2 separate regions of the Homo sapiens genome follow, and region 1 is linked to region 2. Evidence: promoter capture Hi-C in human tissues and cell types (Jung and others, 2019). All regions are on one chromosome and are shown on one strand. Each heading gives the region's core, a stretch centred on a gene start or on the middle of the fragment in contact. The rest is flanking DNA. Distances are from core to core; before and after follow the strand shown.

Region 1 (4,599 bases), core at 519-3,018, 470 kb before region 2:
CCACACCCCATTCCCGGCCCCGCCCCTTTCCCTGCCGCTGTCACGCCTCTTTTCTGCCCTGCCACACCCCATTCCCGGCCCCGCCCCTTTCCCTGCCGCTGTCACGCCTCTTTTCTGCCCTGCCACACCCCATTCCCGGCCCCGCCCCTTTCCCTGCCGCTGTCACGCCTCTTTTCTGCCCTGCCACACCCAATTCCGTGCCCTGCCTCTTTCCTTCCCCTGCCACACCCAATTCTGTGGCCTGTCGCTTTCCTCTTCCTGCCCCTGCATCACCCCCTTTCCTGCCCCGCCCCATTCCCTGCCCCTGTCATGCCCCTTTCCGGCTTTGCCTCCTCCCTGTCCCACCTCTTTCTTGCCTCCACCCCGCCCTTTTCCTGCCCGCTCCTAGACCTGCTGCTGCCCCGGCCATCCCCAGGCTTGGGCAGCGGGGCGGGACGGGACAGCCAAGAGACACTGAGCCAGCTTTGCCCCCCACCCCCCTCTCTTGAGGGGCCGCGCACCACCTCGGGGAGGAGCCAGGGCGGGGCCTGACCCCACAAAGCTTTAGTTCCCCCGGGGAGAGGCTGGGGACAAGCTACCCATTCTGGGGTATGACACCTATCAGCACGTGTGAGCCCGCCCTGTGCCCGGCCCACTTCTGCTTCCTCTTAGCGCAGGAGGGGTCCCGCACTGGGAGGGGCCCTCACAGCCTACCCCGCTAGCTTTCTGCCTGATGGTGAGCTTGCCCCGTTGTTCGCCGCCATCTTTCGCCTTTGCCTGACAGCTCAGGTAGGGCGACGTCTCCCCCCAGCTCAGCCCCAGGCAGAAGTCAGGCCCGCTCTGCACCTCGTGCTGTGCCTGGCCCGTGTGTTCCCCTCACAGTGACGCACAGCCGTCCTGTGGGGAGGGAGGGCTCTGGGAAAAGACCCCCTTCTTGAGTGTTCCCCATCGGTTTGTCCCCAGGGCTGCGCTGGCCTCGGCACACCAGTGCCACCCGCTGCCCCGGACGCTGAGCGTCCTGAAGAGCACGCCGCAGGTACGGGGCATGCACACCATCATCAGGTGAGGGCCCACCTGGGGACGGGGCGGCCCCGGGCGCGTGCTCCCGCTCAACTGTTGGCCCCACAGGGACAAGGAGACCAGTCGCGACGAGTTCATCTTCTACTCCAAGAGACTGATGCGGCTGCTCATCGAGCACGCGCTCTCCTTCCTGCCCTTTCAGGTTCGTAGCCCGTAGCCCGCGAGGTGGAGGGTGGGTCTTGGAGCCGGTGCGAGCTCCCTGCGCTCACCGGAGTCCTCACCCTGCACCCCACAGGACTGCGTCGTACAGACCCCGCAGGGGCAGGACTATGCGGGCAAGTGCTATGCGGGGAAGCAGGTACCTGCCTGGGCACACCTGGGCGCGGGACAGGCTGCTGGGGCGGGATGTGGGCGCTTAGCCTCCCCTCCCCGCAGATCACCGGTGTGTCCATTCTGCGCGCCGGTGAAACCATGGAGCCCGCGCTGCGCGCTGTGTGCAAAGACGTGCGCATCGGCACCATCCTCATCCAGACCAACCAGCTTACCGGGGAGCCCGAGGTGCCTGGGGGCAGCCGGGGTGATGAGCCCGGGGGTAGGGGGCAGAGGGAGCTCACAGCAAGGGGACGCAGGGAGCCCCACCTGCAGCCTGACCCCTGCTGCCCGCAGCTCCACTACCTGAGGCTGCCCAAGGACATCAGCGATGACCACGTGATCCTCATGGACTGCACCGTGTCCACGGGCGCGGCGGCCATGATGGCAGTGCGCGTGCTCCTGGTGAGTGAGCCCTGGGTAGGCGGGGCAGGTTCAGGCAGAGGTGGGATTTACCTGCCCAATACACTCGGTAGGACCACGACGTGCCTGAGGACAAGATCTTTTTGCTGTCGCTGCTCATGGCAGAGATGGGCGTGCACTCAGTGGCCTATGCATTTCCGCGAGTGAGAATCATCACCACGGCGGTGGACAAGCGGGTCAATGACCTTTTCCGCATCATCCCAGGCATTGGTGAGGCTGCCCGGGCCCTTCAGCCGCACATGAGGGCAGGGTGGGTGGCCCTGGGAGGCCCCACCACACTGGACCCCCCCCCCCCTTTTTCCAGGGAACTTTGGCGACCGCTACTTTGGGACAGACGCGGTCCCCGATGGCAGTGACGAGGAGGAAGTGGCCTACACGGGTTAGCTGCCCAGTGAGCCATCCCGTCCCCACCACCCTCCTCCTGCCTCCTGACCCAGGACTGCTGAATACAAAGATGTTAATTTTTAAAATGTTACTAGTATAATTTATTCTATGCATTTTATAAAATAAATAAAGCTTTAGAAAAATGAAGGTGTGATTGGTTACAGCACAGGAGAGGTGTCCTGGCTGAGGCATGCATTTGTGGAGACTCCCATGGGGAGGGAGGGAGGGAGCTGAGGGCCCTGCCTTCTCCCCTGCAGGACCAAGCATTCCCAGTCTTGCACTTGTGCCAGATGAAGGAAGGGGTAGAACTGGGCCCTGCAGCTCCTAGCTCTGCTAGATGGGGCCCCTAGAACCCATAGCTTGGTGGCCACCTGGCCTGGACCTAGGGAGGGGACAGGGCCCCCTGGTGCTCTGGGTCTCACAAGAGGCAGGCTGTTTTGCCCCCACCCACAAATTTGTACCATCAGGGTCCTCCCCACAGTTGGGGGGGGGGAGGGTCCTTCCCGTCAGGACAAGTCGCTGGAGGCAGCAAAGCCAGGAGGCAGACCAGGGCGGAAGTGGGGGCCTGCGCTTGGAGGCGGGGCCACCCGGGGCCCACGAGCCCGGAGCCACTGCTGCTCAGGGCCCGCCTCGCTCACCCCTCCAGACCTGGAGGCCCACCCGCATCCCGTGCTCTCTGCCGTGCCCACGCCCGCAAGCGTGGGTTCCCTTAGGTCCTGCCCACCCTGCTTTCCGAGCAGGCCCCCCCCGGGCTCCCCGAGAGGAGTCGCCGCCGTGGTTTACTGAGGAAGAGGAGGTGCACGCGCGGCGCCCACACGTCGGGCCCCGGAGAGGCCCAGATAACTGAATCAGCCTCCCGGGGCTCAGCCGTGGAGCTGAGGGCTGATGCTGGGGACTCAGCCGTGGGCCAGGCGCATCTGACACGGGACACGGTCGTCCCCGTCCTCTCAGGCGCCAGTGTCTTTCTGCGTGGAAGTCCACGGCCAAAAGCGTGGCGTCCTCGGAGCCTGGCACCTCGATTATGCCGGATCCCGGATCCTGGACAGGGGTCTGCTGACGAAGGGAGGGACGGCGTAAGGCCGGTCTTCCCAGATGCCGCGAGACCTTGCGCTGCAGTGGGGTCTCCCATTGCCCATGCGACCAGGCCGGGTGGGCGCTGGTCCCCACGTGGGGGGCCCATCTGCGGGTGCAGCGCTCCCGCCACTCGCCCGCCCCACCGGTCCCGATTGGCCACGCCCCTGCCCAGCCCCCGCTCCGCCTGGTAGGCCAGGTCCCGCTGGGCCCCACCGAGTGACCACGCCCCTGAGCCGGCCCCGCCCCCGCGCTGGCCCCGCCCCCCACCCGACCCTGAGCAGCGGGGCTGGCGCTAGAAGTGGTCCCTTCCTGGCGTTCCTCGGTCACGGAGAGCGGGGCGCAAGGAAGGCATAGCCGGGGGGAGCGGGGAGGGTGGTCCGACCCCGTCTTGGAGACGGAGGAGATTCCTGGGGCGCTGGGCGGACGGAGAGTTTTGCCGCAGCGCCTGTTAACCGCGGTCCCCTGGACCAGGAGAAACAGGGCCGACAACCCTCCCTGGCAAGGGTCTTGCTGCCCGCCACCCAGTGTCCAGTGCTCGGCTTGCTGTTAACATTTCTCTGTAAGAATCCCATATATAAAATACTTAACATAGGCCGGGCGCGCTGCCTCACACCTGTAATCCCAGCACTTTGGGAGGCCTACATAGGTTCGAGACCAGCCTGGCCAACATGGTGAAACCCCCGTCTCTACTAAAAATACAAAAAATTAGCTGGGCGTGGTGGCGCGCCTTTAGTCCCAGCTACTCGGGAGGCTGAGGTACAAGAATCGCTTGAACGCAGGAGGCGGAAGCTGCAGTGAACCGAGATCGCGCCATTGCACACCAGCCTGGATGACAGAGCAAGACTCTGTCTCAAAGGAAAAAGAAAAAAAAAACTGAACTTAATAAACGTGGATTCTACTTAATTAAGAAAATTCAAAGACCAAGCCAGAAAAAAACGTCTGACAACGCTAAGGCTAGAAGGGGCAGCGAGAAGATGGGGAGCCTCTTTGCAGGGCAGTGTGGGGCCACCAGTCAAGGGAAGGCTTCCAGATCCCGCTCCCAGCGATCCCACCCGAGACAACTCAGCAGCGACATTCAGGCAGCTTTGTTTCCACAGTGAGAAACTAAAAACCTGTGGTCAGTTTGCCCAGGACCGACTGTGATTAATTCGTGACTGTTCTGTACAGAAGCTAAAATGAACCAGACCTAATATAACCACACGGCTTGATTTCTTAACTACTACTGTATCAAATGAAAAACTTAGGCCTGGTGCAGTGGCTCACGCCTGTAATCCCAGCACCCTGGGAGGCCGAGGCGGGCGGATTACCTGAGGTCCGGAGTTCAAGATCAGGCTGGCCAACATGGTGAAA
Region 2 (5,214 bases), core at 2,237-4,736:
GCGGTCCTCCCACCTCAGCCTCCTGGGCAGCTAGGATCACAGGCAGGCCACCAAGCCTGGATAATTTTTGCAGTTTTGTAGAGAGAGGGTTTCTATGTTGCCCAGGCTGGTCTCGAACTCCTGGGCTCAAGCAGTCTACCCACCTCAGCCTCCCAAAACTCTGGTCTTACAGGCATGAGCCGCCTGGCCTGGCCTCGGTTTTTCACTTTTGGTCCCACCATTCCAGTGCCGAGCCTGTGAGACTGGAGTCATGACCCAGCAGGACTGCACCTGCACCTGAGGGAGAGCACAGGCGTGGGTTCTGGAGGGCACCGAGTCTGCTCTGTGACCAGCACCATATGGGCAGGGTTACCCTGTGGGTTCTCCCTGGCAGTGACCCAGATGTGCTTCAGTTTGTCCTCCAACAACCATTGACTCTGGGCCCCTCTCTGCGCCAGGCTCCAGGGAGGACAGTTCGGGAAGCCCGGGGGAGCCCGGGCAGTAGGCGGTCACAGCCCCTGTGGTTTGCTTTCTGCTGGGGAGGGAGCCCACCAGAGGACTTTGGGGACAGATGAGCTGGCCTTGATCGGCAGGAGCAGCCAGTTCTGGCAGTACAATCTTCATGTTCTCTGGTCGCTTAGTGCAGCCCAGTGACGTGGGACACTGGGGAGGCCTTGAGGTTACTTGCCTGGAGGAGACCAGAGAAGGGGCTGGGCTTGCAGGTTCCGGGGAGAGGATGGTGCTGGAGGTGCTGAAGGGACAGCGCCCGCGTGGAATCCGCTGCTGCCCTGGCCGCCTGGGCGAAGACTGACTGTCTCCTCCGCTGGAGCTGGGCACCACGTACGTCTGAATTCTGCTCATCCTCTCTGGAGTCCTGTCGATGCGGTCTTGGCAAAGATTGTTTGAGCCTGAACGCTTTTCCCATCTATTTTTACATAAATGGAATTCCTCCTGCTTGGATGAAATTTACCCCAACTGGGCATTTTCACGACCCACTTTGCCTGGGCGCAGAGGAGGGGACAGGGGGCAGGCATGCGGGTAACCAGATTGCTGACAATGTAGCCCGTGGGTGTGCAAGACACAAAATTAAAAACATAAATGATTAATGAGCTAGCTCTTTGAAAGGACATCCTAAACAAAGGAGGAAGCAAGGATTTTCAAGCCTTGATGCAGGATTCACTTTCCAGAACCTTCCAAGGTGTGGCAAAGCTGCTGGAGCCAACGCCATTTGTAGACGGGAGAACCGCGAGCTGCAGGGTGCAAAGCTCCACCTGCATCCTGAGCCGGCCCCTCCAGCCCGGCATCCCCACGGGGGATGCCACTCTCGGCCACCCCCAGGAGGCTGTGAAGCCAGCCGATGGCTCCCCAAGACCTCAGCAGGGTTTTCCCCTTTTTTTTCTGAAAAATAAGATGAACAGGTTTGTCTCTCCCAATGTCCTGGACACCAGAGCACCTTAATCCTTGCTCCCATCTCAGCTCTGGTGCATCTGCTCAAACGGGAACTGGGGTCACTTTTCCTTCATCCTCTGTGGATCAGCCCTGACCTTGGGTCCCACTGGGCTCTGACATCAAACCTGAGATGACTGCTTGCCCAGGAGAGGTCACGTGTAGCCCGGGCACTGCCGAGGGGCACCGGATAGTCTGGGGCTTCCCCCCACAGGATGAGGGGCCCCAGCCCTGCAGGGTTTACATTTTGAGCTACGGCTGCTCCCTCGGGTCTTCTGGTGAGTGGGAAAGACCAGCGGCACCAGCCAGCGTGTGCAGGGAGATGCCACGGTGCTCTCTTCCTTCTGCATACTGAAGTCCTCTCCCTCCCCTGAAAGCACCAGGCTGGTGCCTCCTCCCTTAACAATCGAGAGAAACCGCAGCCGCTTGGGGCAAGCCCACTTCATGCTGGTAATCACAGCCAATGCGTGGGCACAGAGGCAGGGAGGCGGGGATCCAGAAAGTACCCCTGGATGTGCACAAGCTTGTGTAAGTTGCCGTCTATCCCCAACGTCCTGGATAACGTACAGGTTAGCATTCTGCCTGCACCGACCCTTCTGTATTCAGCCTAGTTAAAAACAAAACAACAACAACAAAAACAGGCCCCGTGGCCACTAGCTCTGGAAACCAAAGGGCAAACACAACTCAAGAGCTCACTCTGCACCAGGGTTAGGGCTGTTTTATGAGCAGGTCACCTGCGAGGACGGCGCCAGCGATTCAGCAGAGGGCCTTTCTCTGGGTAGAACCCATGGTGCCAGGCGAACGTGCAAACAGGCTGGATGTAGTCAGAGACGCACTCGAAGATGACACCCCTCCTGGATGTGCAGAGGAAGGCCCAGTGGCGGGGCACCTCACAGGGCGGGCAGCACTGAGCCGCAGGGGTCCCTTGGTCTCCCAGCAGCAGCTCCAGAGGGACCCCTCCCAGGACACATGGCTGCCGGCAGGGGGGAGGCCACCTCCGCGCACTTGCCCCCAAGGAAACACCGTCCCATCTGTGTCCAGGAGGCACAGATCTGCCTCCTTTGTCCCGAGGTGTGGCACTGGGCTTCCTGCTGGCCTGTCTGCTGCCCTGGGGCCACCCTCCAGTCCCTGCCCCTGCCACAGGCCCCTTCTGGGGTCTGCATAACTAAGTCCAGGCCCCTTGGGGGGCTTCAAGGCCCTCTAGGAGTGACTCTCTCCCATCCCCCACCCCATGGCCCTTGCTCCTCTTCTTGCCTCCCGGCCTCTGTGGCCACCCCCTTTCCCCTGGGCTGCTTTCCTTGCAGGGTGCCTCCAGCCTCCACAGACCCTCCCTGCACACACCCTGGGGTCTAGGGGGTCCTACTGCCTGGGCAACCCTGACACCGAGAGCATGAGGTCACCATGGGCTGAGCCCTAACAGAGTCTTGGGGAGAGCCCCTACCCCCATCCCTTCCCGGAGGCGTCCACTCCCAGGGCCCAGCTGAGAAGACTCCAGTCCTGCTCAGGCGGCTGGGCACCGCTCTGGGACCCCAGGAGCGCTGGGGCCACCAGGCAGGTCCACTTGGTTAGTACTACCGGACTCAAAGGTGACCGCAGGGTCAGTGTGCACATGGCCGGGGGATTGGGCAGGCTCAGCCCAGAGCTCTGGTCCCGCGGGCCTTGGTCCCTTCTGCCTCCCCCTCCTCTCCCCCTGCCCTCCCCTCCCCCTCCCCCACTCCCCCTCCTCTCCCCCCTCCCCTCCCCCTCCACTCCTGTCTCCCCCCTCCACTCCTGTCTCCCCTCTCCCCGTCCCCGCCACTCTCCTCCCCTCCCATTCCCCTCTCCTCCCCTCCCCCTCCCCTCCTGTCTCCCCTCTCCCCGTCCCCTCTCCCTCCCCTCCCCTCCCTTTCCCTCTTCTCTCCTCCCCTCTCCTCTCCTTCCCCCCTCCCCTCCCCTCCCCGTCCCTCCCTCTCCCCTCCCTTCCCCTCCCTCTCTTCTCCTCCCCTCTCCTTCGACTGGCGTCGCGGGGGTTAACGCGGGGCGGGGCGAGGCGGCGGGCGGAGCCGGCGCGGCCGCGGGCCAGGCGCCGAGGTGCGCGCGGAGCGAGGTGGCCGCAGCGTCTCCGCGCGCGGCCCAAGCCCGGCAGGAGTGCGGAACCGCCGCCTCGGCCATGCGGCTCCCGGCCGGGGGGCCTGGGCTGGGGCCCGCGCCGCCCCCCGCGCTCCGCCCCCGCTGAGCCTGAGCCCGACCCGGGGCGCCTCCCGCCAGGCACCATGGTGCAGAAGTCGCGCAACGGCGGCGTATACCCCGGCCCGAGCGGGGAGAAGAAGCTGAAGGTGGGCTTCGTGGGGCTGGACCCCGGCGCGCCCGACTCCACCCGGGACGGGGCGCTGCTGATCGCCGGCTCCGAGGCCCCCAAGCGCGGCAGCATCCTCAGCAAACCTCGCGCGGGCGGCGCGGGCGCCGGGAAGCCCCCCAAGCGCAACGCCTTCTACCGCAAGCTGCAGAATTTCCTCTACAACGTGCTGGAGCGGCCGCGCGGCTGGGCGTTCATCTACCACGCCTACGTGTGAGTGGCCGGCGGGGCCCCCGTGGCGACCCCCATGGCGACCCCCATCGGCGACCCCATCGGCGACCCCGGCCAGGCTGGCTGCGGCGGGTTTGGCTCCCTGCCCCTGGGTCTGGGTCCGGGGCCGGCGCTCCCCGGCGGGAGTGCTGGGCCGAGACCGGAGAGCGATTGTACAGCGCGCGGGCAGGAAGGATTCCGGGGTCGGGGCCGCTCAGGTCGGGGTGGGGGCTCCAGGCCCGCAGGACAGAGACGTGCGGCCGCCCCAGCCCCCTCCTCAGCCTGGGAGGCCCCTCCCCGCGGCCTCTGCGCCGAACAAAGGGCCGGCCGGGGAGGGACGGCGGCAGCGCTGGGTCTGGACTCTCCGGGACTCTCGGGGACCCGCGGGGCTGGGGCCGCCCGACCAAGCGAGGGCGGGGGGGAGGGGTCTGGCCTGTCCTCCGCCATCCTCCCGAGCCGCTCTCCCTCAGACTAGGGTGAGCTTCTGGGTTCCTGAGATGGGGGAGGGGCCCTCCCATGACCCCCCCACCCCAGCCCGGGCTGAGCGCAGCTGTCTGTCCTGCCCCCTCGGCGCCGACGCCCCTCCCTGGCCCCGCGAACCCCCTCAGCTCCTGCGCTCAGCTCCTGCGCTGTCCCATCTCTGCAGCCGCCGGCCGCCCCCGTGCACATCCCGGGCTCAGGACCCCTCCTTGGCAGAGCGAGGCCCGGGGGAGGGGCTGCGGCAGACCTGGGACCCCCAGCCCTGGGCCTGGAAGGGGCTGTCCCCTCTTCCCGGGCGAGGCTCAGGGAACGGCTGCCTCCTGGGGCAGGGCTGGCGGGGGGCGGCCGAAGCCTGCGTCCGTGTGCACCTGGGTGTTCGCATGTGGAATTGCACGGCCCGCTGCGTGTGCGGCCTGTGCGGCCGGTGTGCACAGCCTCCCCGCGCCAGGGCGCTTGCTCTCCCATCCCAGCTGAACAAGGGACCCGCTGAGCTCCGGGACCGGCCATTTTGTGTGAGAGGCATTTTGGGATGGGAGTGAGGGGCAGACTGGTCACAAGCTGGTCGGGCGCCCACCTGGGCCGAGAGGGGTGTGTGCCCCACGAGTGTGCCCCAGCCTGCGTGTGGCCTTGAGTGTGCCCTTAGCAGACCCTCCGTGGACTGTGATATGAGAGGGTTCTGGGGTAGGGAGAAGATCCCAGAGGGAAATGCCAGGCCGCTTACAGGGAGGGTGTCTCCGTGGAGGGCCCCTGGGCACCCAGCCTGG

What was found. Contacts are between HindIII fragments. The study calls those that stand out against the background at their distance.
Region 1: a fragment that was not itself captured here is called in contact with the fragment with the promoter of KCNQ2 in region 2 in 3 of the 25 tissues and cell types used here (H1 embryonic stem cells, dorsolateral prefrontal cortex and lymphoblastoid cells).

What each region holds. Positions count from the first base shown.
Region 1 is chr20:63,937,552-63,942,150 of GRCh38, reverse strand. UCKL1 (uridine-cytidine kinase 1 like 1) reads left to right here. Exons shown (of 15, transcript NM_017859.4): 9 at 943-1,041; 10 at 1,108-1,201; 11 at 1,295-1,357; 12 at 1,435-1,557; 13 at 1,666-1,773; 14 at 1,845-2,001; 15 at 2,096-2,322. The coding sequence ends at 2,175. MIR1914 (microRNA 1914) reads left to right here and starts at 607; the gene lies at 607-686. The HindIII fragment of the contact is 6,155 bases long and covers 1-4,599 here.
Region 2 is chr20:63,470,927-63,476,140 of GRCh38, reverse strand. It overlaps KCNQ2 (potassium voltage-gated channel subfamily Q member 2), which reads left to right and starts at 3,486. Exons shown (of 17, transcript NM_172107.4): 1 at 3,486-3,973. The coding sequence starts at 3,678. RefSeq lists a silencer at 454-654. The HindIII fragment of the contact is 7,504 bases long and covers 64-5,214 here.